2 separate regions of the Homo sapiens genome follow, and region 2 is linked to region 1. Evidence: promoter capture Hi-C in 16 types of primary human blood cells and fetal thymus (Javierre and others, 2016). All regions are on one chromosome and are shown on one strand. The core of a region is centred on a gene start or on the middle of the fragment in contact, and the rest is flanking DNA. Distances in the headings are between cores, read along the strand shown.

Region 1 (7,479 bases), core at 1,460-3,959:
TAAAAATCCCAATGATGTTTTTGCAGAAATTTTAAAAAAATCCATCCTAAAATACATATGAAATTAGAAGGGGTCCTATATAGCCAAAACAATCTTAAAAAAGAACAAAGTTGGTCTCACATTTTCCTGTTTCAAAATTTACTGTAAAGCTACAGTAATCATAACAGTGTGATACTGATATAAAGACAGATATATAAAGCAATGGAAAAGAACAGAGAGCCTAGAAATAAACCCTCAAATACACATATGGTTAAATGAGTTCATTTATTTATTTATTTGAATTGACAAAAATTATATGTATTTATTGTGTACAACACATTTTTTTGGAATATGTATACTTCGTACAATGGCTAAATCAAACTAATTAACATATGCATTACCTCACATAAGTTTTTTTGTAGTGAAAACACAAAATCTACTCTCTTAGCAATTTTCAGGACTGTAACATATTGTTATGAACTATAGTCTCTATGTTGTACAATAGATCTCTTGAATTTATTCCTCTTATCTAACTGAAATTTTGTAATCCTTTGACCAACATCTTCCCAACACACTCCACCACCACCCTACCCCCGGTAACCACCATTCTACTTTCTACTTCCATGAATTCAACTTTTTCTTTTTTTTGAGGTTTTTTTGTTTTTATTATACTTTAAGTTCTAGGGTACATGTGCACAACTTGCAGGTTTGTTGCATATGTATACATGTGCCATGTTGGTGTGCTGCACCCAATAACTTGTCATTTACATTAAGTTCCACTTGTAAGTGAGAAAGTGCAATATTAGTCTTTTTCTTTGTCTGACTTATTTCACTTAGTATAATGTTCTCAAGTTTAATCTGTTGCCCCAAATAGCAGGATTTCCTTCTTTTATGACCAATAATATTCCAGTGTGTGAGTGTGTGTGTGTGTATGTGTGTGTGTATCACATTTTCTTTATCCACTCATTTAATGATGGACATGGACACTTAGGTTGCTTCCATATCTTGGCTATTGTGAGTAATGCTGCAATGAACATGGGAATGCAGATGTCTCTTCAAAATACTGATTTACTTTCCTTCGGGTATATACACAGAAGTGGGATTGCTTGATTATATGACAGTTCTATTTTTAATTTTCTGATGAACCTTCATATTGTTTTCCATAATGGCTGTACTAATTTACATTTCCACCAACAGTGTGCCAGAGTTCTCTTTTCTCCACTTCCTCTCCAACACTTGCTATCTTTTGTCTTTTTGATAATAACTATCTAATATGTGTGAGACGATATCTCATTGTGGTTTCAATTTGCATTATCCGATGATTGGTGATTTTGAAAATTTTTCATATACCTGTTGGCAATTTGTAGATTTTTTTTGAGAAATGTCTATTTAGATTTTTTGCCCATTTTTCAATTACGTTATTTGTTTTCTTACTACAGGTATTGAGTTGTTTGAGTTTCCTCTATACTTTGGATATTAACCCTTTATCAGATATGTGGTTTATAAATATTTTCTCCCATTCAGCGGTTTGCGTCTTCACTCAGTTTAGTGTTTTATTGGCTGTGCAGAAGCTTTTTAGTTTGATGTAATCCCACTTGTCTATTTTTGCTGATGCTTTTGGATTCATGTTCACAATATCACAATATTGGCCAGGCAAAAGTCATGGAGTTTCCTCTGTTTTCTTCTTATAGTTTTATCATTTTGAGTCTTTCTTACATTTCAGTCTTTTAATCCATTCTAAGTTGGTTTTTGTATATAATGTGAGACAATGGTCTAATTTCATTTCTTCTGAATGTGAATGTGGTCAAATGATTTTCAACAAGGGTGACAAGACTATTTACAAATGGTTAAGATGGTTAATGTAAATGGTTCATAAATTTTATGGTATGTATATTTTACCACAATTAAAAATTTGTAACTATAAACATGTGTAGGAGACCCAAACTTTTCTGAAATAGAAGATATATATGTATATATGCTGGTTTATATTTGCAGAAGCAAGGATAAAGGTGTCAAAGAATGTGCACCAAATTCTTAATATTGATTACCTCTAGAGCATTAGTTTTGGAAGAGATGTGTGCATCTTCCAGGAAGGGAAAAGACACTAATTTTTCTTTATATACCTCTGTACTCTTTGACTTGTTACAATGTGTACTCATTACTAGCACATATGTTTAATTTAATAGAGTCAGAAAACAATCTACAAGCAAAAGTCATTAAAGATTTTAGTTAGCAATTTGTACATTCACTATTACTGAAGGCAAGAATATTAGATAGAGCTCTGAGGATCCTATAACTTGCACAAATTGATCATAGAAAGGCATACTTGGTTTGAAAGTTGATACATCAGGTTGTAGTTCATGTTTTGATGACACTAATGTTAGTCTTTCCAAGTCTGGACAAATTGTTTATAAAATCATGATCATAGTTAAGTGACCATTTAAGGAAAAATGATCAGTTAAGATAAATTCTGCCTAAAGGTTATCAAAGGACAACTATGACAAAACGTGCCAGGGCGACACTTGGCTCAAGGCTAGTCTGTCATGTGACTTGCATAAAGAGGCACTTCGGTGCTTGGCTTCCATGATGAGCCTTCACTTCGCCCAGAGGGCAAAGAAGAAACATAATGAGACTTAATTGTACAATGGAAAAAGGCTATTGAAATGCTATTTATAACTTTATAAACACCTCAGGTATTAGCCAGAGACTCACACTGAAATTGACATCAAGAAAAGGTGTTGGGTAAATATGCAGCTCTAGGGAACATATCAAAGGACAGATATAGAAGGTACAGCCCAAACTCAGAAACCTCTCTTAACACAGCTCTCAACCCAACTCCTGACACCATGGCCAGCTGTTCCACCAGTGGGACCTGTGGCTCCAGCTGCTGCCAGCCAAGCTGCTGTGAAACTAGCTGCTGCCAGCCAAGCTGCTGCCAGACCAGCTCCTGCGGAACCGGCTGTGGCATTGGTGGTGGCATTGGCTATGGCCAGGAGGGCAGCGGTGGATCTGTGAGCACCCGTATCAGGTGGTGCCACCCAGATTGCCACGTGGAGGGCACCTGCCTGCCCCCCTGCTACCTGGTAAGCTGCACACCCCCATCCTGCTGCCAGCTGCACCACGCCGAGGCCTCCTGCTGCCGCCCGTCCTACTGTGGACAGTCCTGCTGCCGCCCAGCCTGCTGCTGCCACTGCTGTGAGCCCACCTGCTAAAAGCCAGGTTGCTGATCGCTTAAGAATGAAAGGGGAAGCACAGCAAAATTGTGCTGATTTCTGAAGAACTGTTCGATTTTACTTGGATGCTAAGTACCATGATGTTGTTAAGCTGCTCAGAGATAATGAAACTCCTAGTTAGGACACTGTGGATGTGCCGAATTCACTTACTGAAAGATGTATCAATCAGTGTTCTGGATAGCTTGCGTTGCTTGAGCAGAGGACCAGGATGGAATAGTTCATCATTTCAGTGACATCTCTGCTCCCCCAACTCTCTCTTGATGCTCATGCATCTTCAGACCTGGTTTTTCCTTGAATATCTCTGATTAATCCAAATAAAATGTTTTAATGTGCAAAGCAAACTGAGTTATGTCCTCCTTCTACCTTTAAACATGTCTTCTTGTAGCTGGTATTCAAGAGTGGATTTGCAATTTGATAATAATACCAAGGCATAACCATAAAGTCTAAACCAGAAAGATTAAATACAAAGTAAATTATGCTTGAATCCATCAGCTTAAAAATGCTCCATGAATTAAAGAATTTTTATAGTTCAAATATTTACATGCTCTAATCTATTATGATTAGGTCTAGACCAATAAAGGTTGACCTTTAGCTAAAATGTTAAGGTTGATCAAAGCTATTGATTTCTATCTAAATGTAATTCTACCATCTTTTGTCTCCTTCCATTTAATATACTAAATGTTCTCCTTCATTTATGCCCCAAAATCTAAAGAAATTGCATTACCTTCTAAATAGATTTAAAAATAGCTACTAGATACTACCTATTTTCCAAGAGAATTTAGGTTTAATTTCTACACCTTAGCCTTTCACATTCTTCCCACTGATCCTTGAATTGCTCTCTAAGCTTCAACTCCCACTATTCACCTTCATTTGATGTACGTATGCATAAGGTGTATCTTTGGTCTAAATGATAGTAGAAGAAACAGCTATAGAGAGCACCCGCTGAGTTCTACCATTGCCATTTGTCAGACAGAAGTGTTAGAAATCTGAAACAGCTCGATTATATTTTGCACTTTGCAACCCAACTTAAAAGATATTCTCTTAAGAAGTTAACACGCTGGACACGGTGGCTTACGCCTGTAATCCCAGCACTTTGGGAGGCTGAGATGGGTGGATCACGAGGTCAGGAGATTGAGACCATCCTGACTAATATGGTGAAACCCAGTCTTTACTAAAAATACAAAAAAAAAATTAGTCAGGTGTGGTCGTGGGTGCCTGCAGTCCCAGCTACTTGGGAGGCTGAGGCAGGAGTATGGCGTGAACCTGGGAGGCAGAGCTTGCAGTGAGCCAAGATCACGCCACTGCACTCCAGCCTGGGCAACAAGCAAGACTCTGTCTCAAAAAAAAAAATTAACACAACCTAGAACAAAACAAAACATATTTTACCATTTAATTTTTAAATTCTTCATTAGGCATTAGAGTGTAATACACAAAATACAATAGGATGCAAATATAGAAAGAAACACGTTTTCCACATTATTTACAAGCTCCCAGAACTTACCTCTATATTTAATTGGTAGCAATGATGGATTACACACAAAATTATGCAATTTCCAAGAGGAATAAAGTAGATGGCAGTACATTTTTCAAAGTGTCATAACTCCTAGATATTTTTTCCCGAGCCCGGTTCCACTACTAAATCCAAAAAATAAAATAAAATAAACCAAAAAACACATTTCCTAGTCTCTTTACAGCAAATAACAAGACTCTTTCATGAGAAGTACTACAGCTTGAAAGTTCTCTTTAATCATGTTTGAGTGGTATTGATATCCATGAATCAAGCCTTTTACTCCACCTATTCAATAAACATTTATTGAATCAGATTCAGTAAACATTTATTAAGGTTCTACCACAAACTAAGGACTCTGCTGGATACCTTCCTAAATACTATGTCAGTTTGGTTCCCAAGAACAGATTTCTGGTCTGGAACAGGAATAATAGTCACACATTCCAAATTGGTTGAAATCAAAGGAACTATAATCGGTAATTCAATAAGACATTGGAACAAAAAAAGGTGAAATCTGCGAATTATGTATGACCAAAGGTATTCCTTCAGTTCAGTAGATATCCAGATATCCAAAATTCAATAAAATTTAGTCTATATATCTAGGAGGAAAAAATAATAGTTAAATATAACAGCACAATTATTACTCTTAGCCTTAGAGGTATGGATAGATTGTCACGTGGAATAACTATTATGTAAAATGAGAGCATTCATTTGGACTAAAATGGAAGTACTCTTTGAACATGGGAAACCACAAACATATTCCAAAGAGCAAAGGACTGATATGAGGAGTCCAGAAGAAACTATAAAACAGTAATTTCTAAACTATTGCTCATAATGTGTCACAAGTATTTCAACATAAGCCAATCAGAGATCCACGGAGTAACAAATTTAAACAAAAACAAAGAAAATATGTTAACAATTTTGTAAACAGCAGCTGGTTCAGATATATAAAAGGACCAACGTGGAAGTCACCACCAAACCTCAGAAACTCCTCCAAGCAACCTAACTCTTAACCCAACTTCTGACACCATGACCTGCTGCCAGACCAGCTTCTGTGGATATCCCAGCTTCTCCATCAGTGGGACCTGTGGCTCCAGCTGCTGCCAGCCAAGCTGCTGTGAGACCAGCTGCTGCCAGCCACGCAGCTGCCAGACTAGCTTCTGCGGATTTCCCAGCTTCTCAACCAGTGGGACCTGCAGCTCCAGTTGCTGCCAGCCAAGCTGCTGTGAGACCAGCTGCTGCCAGCCAAGCTGCTGTGAGACCAGCTGCTGCCAGCCAAGCTGCTGCCAGATCAGCTCCTGCGGAACTGGCTGTGGCATTGGTGGTGGCATCAGCTATGGCCAGGAGGGCAGCAGTGGAGCTGTGAGCACCCGTATCAGGTGGTGCCGCCCAGACAGTCGTGTGGAGGGCACCTACCTACCCCCCTGCTGTGTGGTGAGCTGCACGCCCCCATCCTGCTGCCAACTGCACCATGCCCAGGCCTCCTGCTGCCGCCCGTCCTACTGTGGACAGTCCTGCTGCCGCCCAGTCTGCTGCTGTGAGCCCACTTGCTGAAAGCCAGTTTGCTTATTTTCAATTGCCTAGGTCACAGTGTCTCTGAACTGTTCATCCCTTGACCACCTCTGGACCACTAACAAGTTCTCAGACTTTGCATTGCTTGTGATGGAGACTACTAAGTATATGAGCTCACAATTCTATCTGATTCCATTCTACAATGAATACCTTGACCCTTCACTGGGGACACAGAAATGCTACAAAGCCACCTGCTGATCATCAATTTGCTTGGGATATACTATTTCTGATATTTCTGCAGGATTAAAAATTACTGACATGTTGTGGAATTTATCCATGAGAACTATCCACAAGTCTAATGTTTCCATGCTTTATAATCTATTTTATCTTGTTTACCTAAAATTTTTTGCAACATCAAAGACACCAAATTATAGCCAAGTGACATTCCTCAAGTCACCAGAGAGAATGGAAGCTCATCACCCAACATTCAGCTTCTAAGAAGTAGGCTGGACTTTCCACATTTTAACATCTGATCCATCCCTTGGTTTTTGGATCATAATGATCTTGCCTGCTGGATATTTCAGTTATATCTGTGATACAATGTCTTCTGTCATTTCTTAATAAATATTATATACTAGGCAAAGAAACCATTGTCTTTGTTTTCACTTGTACATCACCTGGTTTAACTGCTTATAATTCAAGAATGTCTACTTGAGGCCAAGAGCAGTGGTTCACACCTGTAATCCTAGCATTTTGGGAGGCTGAGGTGAGTGGATTACCTGAGCTCACGAGTTTGAGACCAGCCTGGGCAACATGGTGAAACCCTGTCTCTACTAAAAATACAAAAAAAAAAAAAAAAAATTAGCTGGGCGTGGTAGTGCACACCTGTAGTCCCAGCTACTTGGGAGGCTGAGGAAGGAGAATCGCTTGAACCCAGGAGGCAGAGGTTTCAGTGAGCTAAGATCATGCTACTGCACTCCATTACACTATGCAATAAACTGCAGCAAGCTCTCAAAATGGCAATTTCCTATATATGACACCAAAGAAGACATAAAGTGCATTAAAAAGTTAAGTAATGGTAAAAAGACACATATTTCCAAGTCGAAAGCAAATGTGGGAGCTTTTCTTTTATTGAGGATCATTGGCCATGTAAGGGTAGGTGGACAACGAAAGGGATGAAGCAAGATGAATTAAGGTATCGAAGGATGGAGACAAGAATGAAAAGGGGGAGAAGAGAACAAAATATAG
Region 2 (7,479 bases), core at 3,608-6,107, 630 kb before region 1:
GTCCCCCAGCCCTTCGTGTTCCTAGGGCCATGTTTCTCACACCTCCTTTACTCCTGGCTAATCTGGGTGTGGCCTGGGACCCGCAGCCTTGGCGTCCGCTGGGAGCTGGTGGGAAATGCAGAGTGTTGGGCCAGATCCCACACTACTGAGTCAGCACCTGCTGTTCTGAGGCTTGGAAGCTCTGTCCTGAGGCAGGCTCTTCCTGGGAATTGGTGGCCGTGTCTGCATCCCCTCCCCTTCCCTGCTCACTGTGAGCTCCTGGTGGGCAGGTGCTCAGCTCTCTGGTGCTCACTTTGGGGACTGGCCCTTGGCCCCCTGAGAATCAAAGTTAAATGAATAGATGAAGGGAAGGGCAGGTGGTCAGAGCTTTGGGTTGAGGGTGTGGGGGTGCAGGGCTGTGGTGCTCAGGAGCTGGTGGGAGGAATGGGGCCAGGGGCAGGGGCCGGTCTAGTCACCTGTTTGGAGGTCTGGTTCTTCACTCACTCTGGCTACTGCCCAAGTTGACTCAGGGAGTCTGTGTTCATTTGCATACCTTTGCATGTGGTTAGCATATCTCTCTGGTGCAGTACGAGGCGCAGGCTGGATTGTGGAGCGGAGAAGGTGGACAGGACAGCGGGTTGGGGGCGTTGGGGGCTTTAGGGCTGCAGATATGTTTCTTGGAGCAGGTCTGGAGTTTGAGCACCCATCCTCTTTGGGTGAGGAGAGAGGCCTGCTGGATCCTCCTGGCTCTGGGTACCTGCTGGGGCTGGGCAGTTCCCACCTCCCTGCCTTCGCTCCTCAGTGGCCCTTTCCTGGAATGCCCTTTCCCCTGTGTCCCTGTGACAACCTTGTGATCTGGGTGCTGTGATCTGGGTGCTGGTTACACAGTTGGGTTCAGTCTGTGAAAATTCACTGAGTTGTACAGCAATTATATGTGCATTTTTCTGCATAAAAAATGGAAAAAGACCAGAACTAACTTCCAGGAAGAGTCCCATGCCTATTCCACAGCTGGGAGCCCTCCCCAGGGTGCCTCTCTTCCCCCTGCCCACCGTCTGCGGTGAAGGCCCTGGTCAATTTCAACTCGACTGAGTTTTATTTATTCACTCTCCTCTCCCCCTGGACTGTGAGCCACCCGGGGCAGAACCAGGTCCTGTTCATTCTTGTGTCACGTCCTATTAATTCTTGTGTCCCCCTGACATGGGACCTGGCACAGGGCAGGTGCTGAACCCATGGGTTCGACCTCACCATCTCTGGGGTGCTCCAGGAGGCCTGGGGCACTGACCACCTGGAGGGGGCATTTCTCCTTACTACCGCCACCCCCAAGCACACAAAAGGCCAGCATTACAATGCCCCTGCTGTGGCCCAGGGCTAGAAGTGGGACTCAAGGGTCCCTGGGTGGGAGTGGGTGTGGGGCACGGCCACCGTGTGGTCCTCAGTGCCCTGCCCTCCCCTGGTTCTCTCTAGCCCGGGTGGCACCTCCTCTTGTCTGTGGTTCATCCCCGGCCTTGAGGCCATCTGGGTCCCTGCTGAGTTCCTCTTCAGGCTTGGGGAGGGGGAGGCAGAGGCCTGGCTTCTCTGGACTGGGCCTGCATGCTGAGTGGCTCTGGGCCTGCCTGGCCTGGCCCTGCCTCATCCCTGCCAGCCCCTCCCTGCCCTGCAAGTTGGGGCCTCCCTGCCACCTGAGTTACAGAGACCTGTAAGCGGGCACACAGCCCCCTCCCCACTGTCTAGAACTTGGCAGAGGAGGACTCTGGGCAATGGCCTGCCTCTCTGGCCTCAATTTCCCTTTTCTGTAAAATGGGGAAAACAATTCAGGCAGCTGCCAGGTCAGATCAGTCAGAGGGTATGGGAGACCTCGGCACCCAGGCGTGTGCAGAGCAAAAGCCTGCTGGGTGTGTGTGGGGTTCGTGAGGGCGCTCTTCAGCTGGGCTGGGGTCTGCACGGTGGAGCAGGTGAGGGGGTGGGAACCTTGTTGGGGAGAGCACAGGAAAGTCAGGGCCTGAGTTTCGGCCCAACTTGATCCTAACTGGCTGCAAGCCCATCCCTCCTGGGCCTCACTTTACTTTTTTGTAAAGGGGGTCCTGAGTGAGATTGTCCTTCAGCCCACATGAGCTCCAAGGCTGGCTGAATGCCTTGCTTTCTTTGGCCTGCACAGGGTGTTATTTTGGAATTAGTTTCCAAATATGAAGCATCAGGAGGCTTCCCATACAAATCCAGAGTTCTAGCTTCCTGGGTGCAAAGCGAGAAGATCCGGCCTCCTGGGATTCCCTGTTTGCAGGCGGCAAGTGGCACAGTAGCGGGGGAAGGGGCCCTCGGTTCTCCCTGCCCCAGGGCCGACCCTCCTGCTGCCCTGCCTAGGACCCTCAGCTGCTGGCCACCCAGCCCCACACCCAGTCCTCTGGTGGCTGGTGCACCTGTGTGGGCAGGCCTCTTCTGTTTTGCCACCTTGCAGCTTCGGAGGGCAGGTCTGGATCAGACTGGCATTAGCTCATGCGCTTATCCAAAGCACACAAAGCAGAGATCTAGGTCTCAGCATTTCCTGGGGGTGTCCGGAGCCGTGGTCAGGGCCCAGAGACCGTGTCTGTGTGTGGGGTGCTGAGTCGCTCCTGCTGGGGTTCAGTCCTTTCCTTCGCCCTTCACTGGCCCCCATTCCATGTCTCAGCCTGGTCGCAAGGCCCTCAGAGACTGGACCCTGCTGTCTCTCTCTCTCTCTCTCTCTGTCTTTTTTTGAGTAAGCAGAGGGGTGTTTATTGACCTTGAGACAGGGGAGCTCTCGCCCTGTGTGGGAGGCCTGAGGGGCTCCAGAGCCCTGGGTTTCTTCCTTGCTTGAACAGAGGTGGTCCGGAGTGGTGCGTTGTGTGGCCCTGGCTCCGTGTTAAGTTAATGGCTGGGTAGGACGGAACCCTGGACTCCTGCCCCTGGCCTGTGTTCTTCCTGTGGTTCCAGGTTCAGAACAGCAAATGGCAAGGCCCCTGGCTCTGAGGCCGGGTGGTTTAAGGAGGTGGCGATGTAGGGAATGTGGGTTTGAAGGCCCTGGGCCCAGGTAACAGGATGAGTCCAAGCAGGGATTCCAAGTCTGCCGCAGGGACCCGCCCGGTGCCAGAGTCCCCTGACAGGGAAGCCCCCGCCTCTGCCCCACCACATCCTTCCCCTGAACGCGCGGCTGCAAAACCACACTGGAATTCCCGAGGGTCAGTGCCGAAGTGGTCCCAAACTGAGGAGGACACTATGCATGGGGACAGAGGAGGGGGCCATGGGGTAAGGGGGACAGGAAAGGCCATCACAGCAGGGCCCAGAGGGGAACTGACCCAGGCTGAGCAGGAGTCCCAAGGAAGGGCCCAGGTGCTGCCTGCCACCAGGACCCCCGCATTACAGAGGCCTCTCTTGCAACAAGAAAGCTTGGAACTCATAGAGGTGTCCAGAACCTCCACATTCCAAATGATGGTATCATTCTTGGGGCAGGAGGGAAAGGAGGCAGAGCCTGTTCCCCACTCTCACTTTCCCAGATGCCACAGGGACCCAGACTCCCTGTGTCTCTCATATCCCGAGACGCAGACCCTGTCAGGGAAGGGGCATGTGGCAGCGGGGCAGGCATGCCTGTGCCAGGCTGGGGCCACCAAGCACTGGTGGCAGCATAGACCTTGGGGTCTCTCTGTGCACAGCAGGGCCACCAGCAGGGCCAGGGCAAAGGTCTTCATGGTGTGGGAACTGCTCATTCTCGCTCTCTCTGGCCGGGCTGCAAGGCAAGTGGTCCCTTCCCCTGCCCCGCCATCTTTTGGCCTCACCTTCCTCCCTCCCCATGGAAGGCCCACACTCCTGTGTTCCTTGTGGCACTGCCTGGTCACAATCTCAAGTCCTCTTCCTTTCTTCCCTACCTGCACCCCCCACCCCCTAATTCAAGCCTCGGCGTCTCCACCCTCCCCAAGCCATCCCTGCCCCATCAACGAGGGCCAGCTCTATGCCCCTGATGACCTGCCAGCCTCCTGAGCCAGGCTGTGCACTCTCTGACTGCCAGGCCAGCCTCTGTCCTGCTTCCCCTACTTCCTGCTCAGAGCCGGTCATGCTGAGGCTGCGATGGAGACCTGGGAGCAGGAGGCAGCAGGGGATTCCTTGGGCTGTGGCTCTCATCATTGCTGAGAGAGGGAGAAAGGGCCCGGCCATTCCTGACCACAGCCCTGGGCTCCTGCACTCAGCCGGGCACTCACTGCATGCCAGCCTCAGACAGGGCAGTAGGGCCGCCTGGATGTGTACTGAGCCCTTCCAGCCAGGGCTTCAAGGCCGGGTCACAACTCCCGGCTCAGTGCCCAACTCCTCAACCCCTCAGCATCCACCTGCCCAGCTCATGACAGGGAGGACAAAACAAAGGAGGCCCCTGTGGGACTACACAGGCCAGCTCCTGACACTATATAGGTGGGGAAACTGGGGCCCAGAGAGGGGCGGTGACTTGTCCAAATTCATGGGCCCAGAGCTGGGCTCCTAGGCCTCTCTCCCGGGCGGCCTGAGTTAGGCCGTGGTGCCGTCAGTCCCGGAAGGTTGGGACACCCACGGCAGTACCTGACTTGCCGGGGCCCAGCCTCCAGCCCACAGCCCTGCTTTGAGCAGCAAGGGAGGCTGCCCCGCCCCCAGCGTCTCCTCCTGCCTGACTGAGTTTCCCAGAGCCAGCAGAAAGGCAGGGCCGATGCAGGTCTGAATCCGCCCAGGGATCTGGCAGTCCCAGCTGGCTTGCCCTGCCCTCGAGCCCTGGGAGCGGGAAGTGAGCCTCCCCACCTCAAATCCTCCACCTTCCCTGCCACCCACACCTTCAGCCCGGGGCCCAAACATGGCAGGGAGCCAGGCCCCTCACCTCCCTCCTTGGTAACCGAGGCAAACACCCAACACTGGAGACTGTTTGTCCTGCCAACGCTGCACCCCAACCTGAGCCCAGACGCCCTGCCGCAGTTGGGAGAAGCCTGGCTGGGGGAGGGGACGTGGCAGGGGCAGCCAGAACCTGTGGGCTTGGGGACCCTTCCCCTCCACTCCAGTTCCCCAGGAGCTTCTGAGTGAGCACAGGGCAGCGGGGCTGTTGTCTCAGCACCTTTGACTGTGAGGCCCCCAACCTCAGCCTCTGCTCCACCCCTAAGACTGTGCGCCCGGAAGGTGGAGAAGGGCTGGCTGGGGTGAGAGGGTCTGTGCTTGAACTACAGCAGAGAAAGAGAGCAGAGGGAGAAAGTTCTCTCTGGCCAGCCCAGCTGTGGGAGGGCTCAGGGAGGGAGGCCAGTGGGCCCTTTCTTTGCAGGCAGGGAGGGATGGGAGATTCTACCAGCGCCAGACCTGGGGGGCTCTGCCTCCTGATCCCCAGGGTCTGGGTGGGCACCGTGAGGCACTCCAGCGTCGCGTTTGGGGGCTGGCTGGGTGGGCAAGGAGGTGGATGTCAGGGCCTGGGGAGGCTGGGGTAAGGTGGCGCCAGGAGGGGACGGGCAGTTTTTCTGGCCTTCACTGGCCTGTGGTTTCCGCAGTGCAGGGCATGGGACTGTGGGGCGATGGAGCAAGGAGGATGGAGTTTCTGTCCCTGGGAAGCCTCTTGTCTGAGGGGAGACATGCCCCGAGCCTTCAGGGACCGCCTAGTCGGAGGGGGAGACACAGCCCTTGTCCTGGGGAGTTTGGAATAACCGTATTGGGGCCAGGGACAGAGGATGATGGAGTCACCCTGCTCTGCATGGAGCACGGGACCACCCGGCCTCACGGGGCTGGGCAGACGCTTCTGTTTCTTCTGCATGGAGCACGGGATCACCTGGCCTCATGGGGTTAGGCAGACGCTTCTGTTTCTTAGGAAGAGGTCTGTTTGCTTCTCAAATGCTTCCCGGGAACCTCCTCCACCACTGCAGCCCTGCACTGTGGGCAGGAATGTCACTAGCCCCCTTTTACGGATGAGGAAACTGAGGCTCAGGCATCTGGGAAAATGTGCTGTGGGCAGCCCCCCCGGACAGAGCTGTGCTGGCACCCTCCAGACAGTGCAGGAGAAGGGCAGGTCCCACAGAGTCCCTGCTGTTCCCCCAAGTCCTGAGGCCAGGGGGTGCTGTCTCTACTCTCAGTCCCCTGCCAGGACCTGTCCCCTGGTTCAATCCCAGGCAGGCCAGCGGGGAGGGTGGGGTGGGAGACTTGGTTCTGCTGAGGCTGCAGCTTCCCTGGCCCACCTAGGCTGAGTCAGGGCTGGGCAGGAGCCGAGGGCAGCAGCTTTCCCAGGGCCAGCCCGGGCGGCGTCCGCATTCCTCACTTGCAGGGTGCGTCTGGGCTTGGCTGAGCCAGGTGTGCTGTGCCCCACCCAGGCCCCCGCCTGCAGCTGAGCCAGCTCAGCGCTGGGGCCTTGTAAGGAAGCTTCTGGCAGCCACCAGGAACGGGGTGTGGGAACTGCTTGGCTTGCATGTCCTTGCTGGGTGGGGTGCAGGCTGGGGGAGATCAGCCTGCTAGAGCCCAAGCTCCCACAGTGGCCAGGGCAATTGGGGTGCCCACTCCTCACCCCCTCCTCACACTCTGCTCTTGCCTCTGCAGTTGGAGAGCTGGAGGCCGAGGCCCCAGGCAGTCTGTGGTTTGGAGCTTTGGTCTTGGTCATTGCTCAGTAGATGCTGGGGGCAGAATGAAGGATGTTCTGAGAGCTGAGGTGGTGGTGAGGGCCCCGCAGTGGCCAGGAAGCAGCAGAGGGACACGTTCTGTTTGCTGCCTCCAGCCTCTAAGGGATGCCTTTGTCCTAAGCAGCTTGGAGCTCTGTGCCAGATGGGGCCCTGGAGTAGAGGCTGTGAGTGCGGACTTGTGCCCATGGGGTGCCCATCTCTGGGGACTGCTGCTGACACCTTGCCACTTGGCCCTGTGTCCCCCACACCCCAGCTGGGCTGTCTGCACTGGCACCTGGGTCTGGAAGGGGTCTATATGGGGTTGGCCAAGGTCAGTCCTCACCACTTACTGCAGTGAAATTCTTCCCACAATCCACTTCCTCTCTTTGGGCCTCTGTTTTCTTTCCTGGAAAGTGGGGGTAGGAACTCCCTTTCCCAATGTCCCTGGGCGCTTTTTGTTTTTCACTTAATTAAAATTTTTTTTTGTTATTTTTGAGATAGGGCCTCACTCTGTCGCCCAGGTTGGAGTGCAGTGACGCCATCACAGCTCGTGCAGGCTTGATCTCCTGGGCTCAAGCGGTTCTCCCACCCCAGCCTCCTGAGTAGCTGGGATCACAGGTGCACACCACCAAGCCTAGCTGAATGTCCCTGGGTTCTTGGTGGATGGAATGTGACCATGAGACTGAGGATGTGTGTTGGGAGCTGAGATGAGCTGTGCTGGGACCTGCATCTTCTCCACCACAGGACCCCCCAACTTAGCGCTGTAGCTTCTCCATCACTGTCTGTGAGTCTGGCAGGGCCCCTGGATGGTGATTGGGGAAGGAAACTTCAAGTTTGGGATTTGGGGACCTTGCTCACTGTTTAGCCTCTTCCTGGAGGGCTACTGGTAGAGCCAGCATTTCAATCACACCAA

Evidence for each region. The method cuts DNA at HindIII sites, captures the fragments that hold promoters and counts their contacts. A CHiCAGO score of 5 or more calls a contact.
Region 2: a fragment that was not itself captured here is called in contact with the fragment with the promoter of KRTAP1-4 in region 1 in 1 of 17 cell types (naive CD4 T cells); the score reaches 5.2 in naive CD4 T cells.

What each region holds. Positions count from the first base shown.
Region 1 is chr17:41,025,425-41,032,903 of GRCh38, reverse strand. It overlaps KRTAP1-4 (keratin associated protein 1-4), which reads left to right and starts at 2,709. Exons shown (of 1, transcript NM_001257305.2): 1 at 2,709-3,553. The coding sequence starts at 2,826. The coding sequence ends at 3,191. It overlaps KRTAP1-5 (keratin associated protein 1-5), which reads left to right and starts at 5,696. Exons shown (of 1, transcript NM_031957.2): 1 at 5,696-6,878. The coding sequence starts at 5,749. The coding sequence ends at 6,273. RefSeq lists an enhancer at 3,070-3,619. The HindIII fragment of the contact is 2,506 bases long and covers 1,553-4,058 here.
Region 2 is chr17:41,653,062-41,660,540 of GRCh38, reverse strand. LOC124904004 (a long non-coding RNA gene) reads left to right here and starts at 5,407. Exons shown (of 2, transcript XR_007065756.1): 1 at 5,407-7,350. RefSeq lists enhancers at 1-256, 5,596-6,292, 6,293-6,991. The HindIII fragment of the contact is 2,956 bases long and covers 3,380-6,335 here.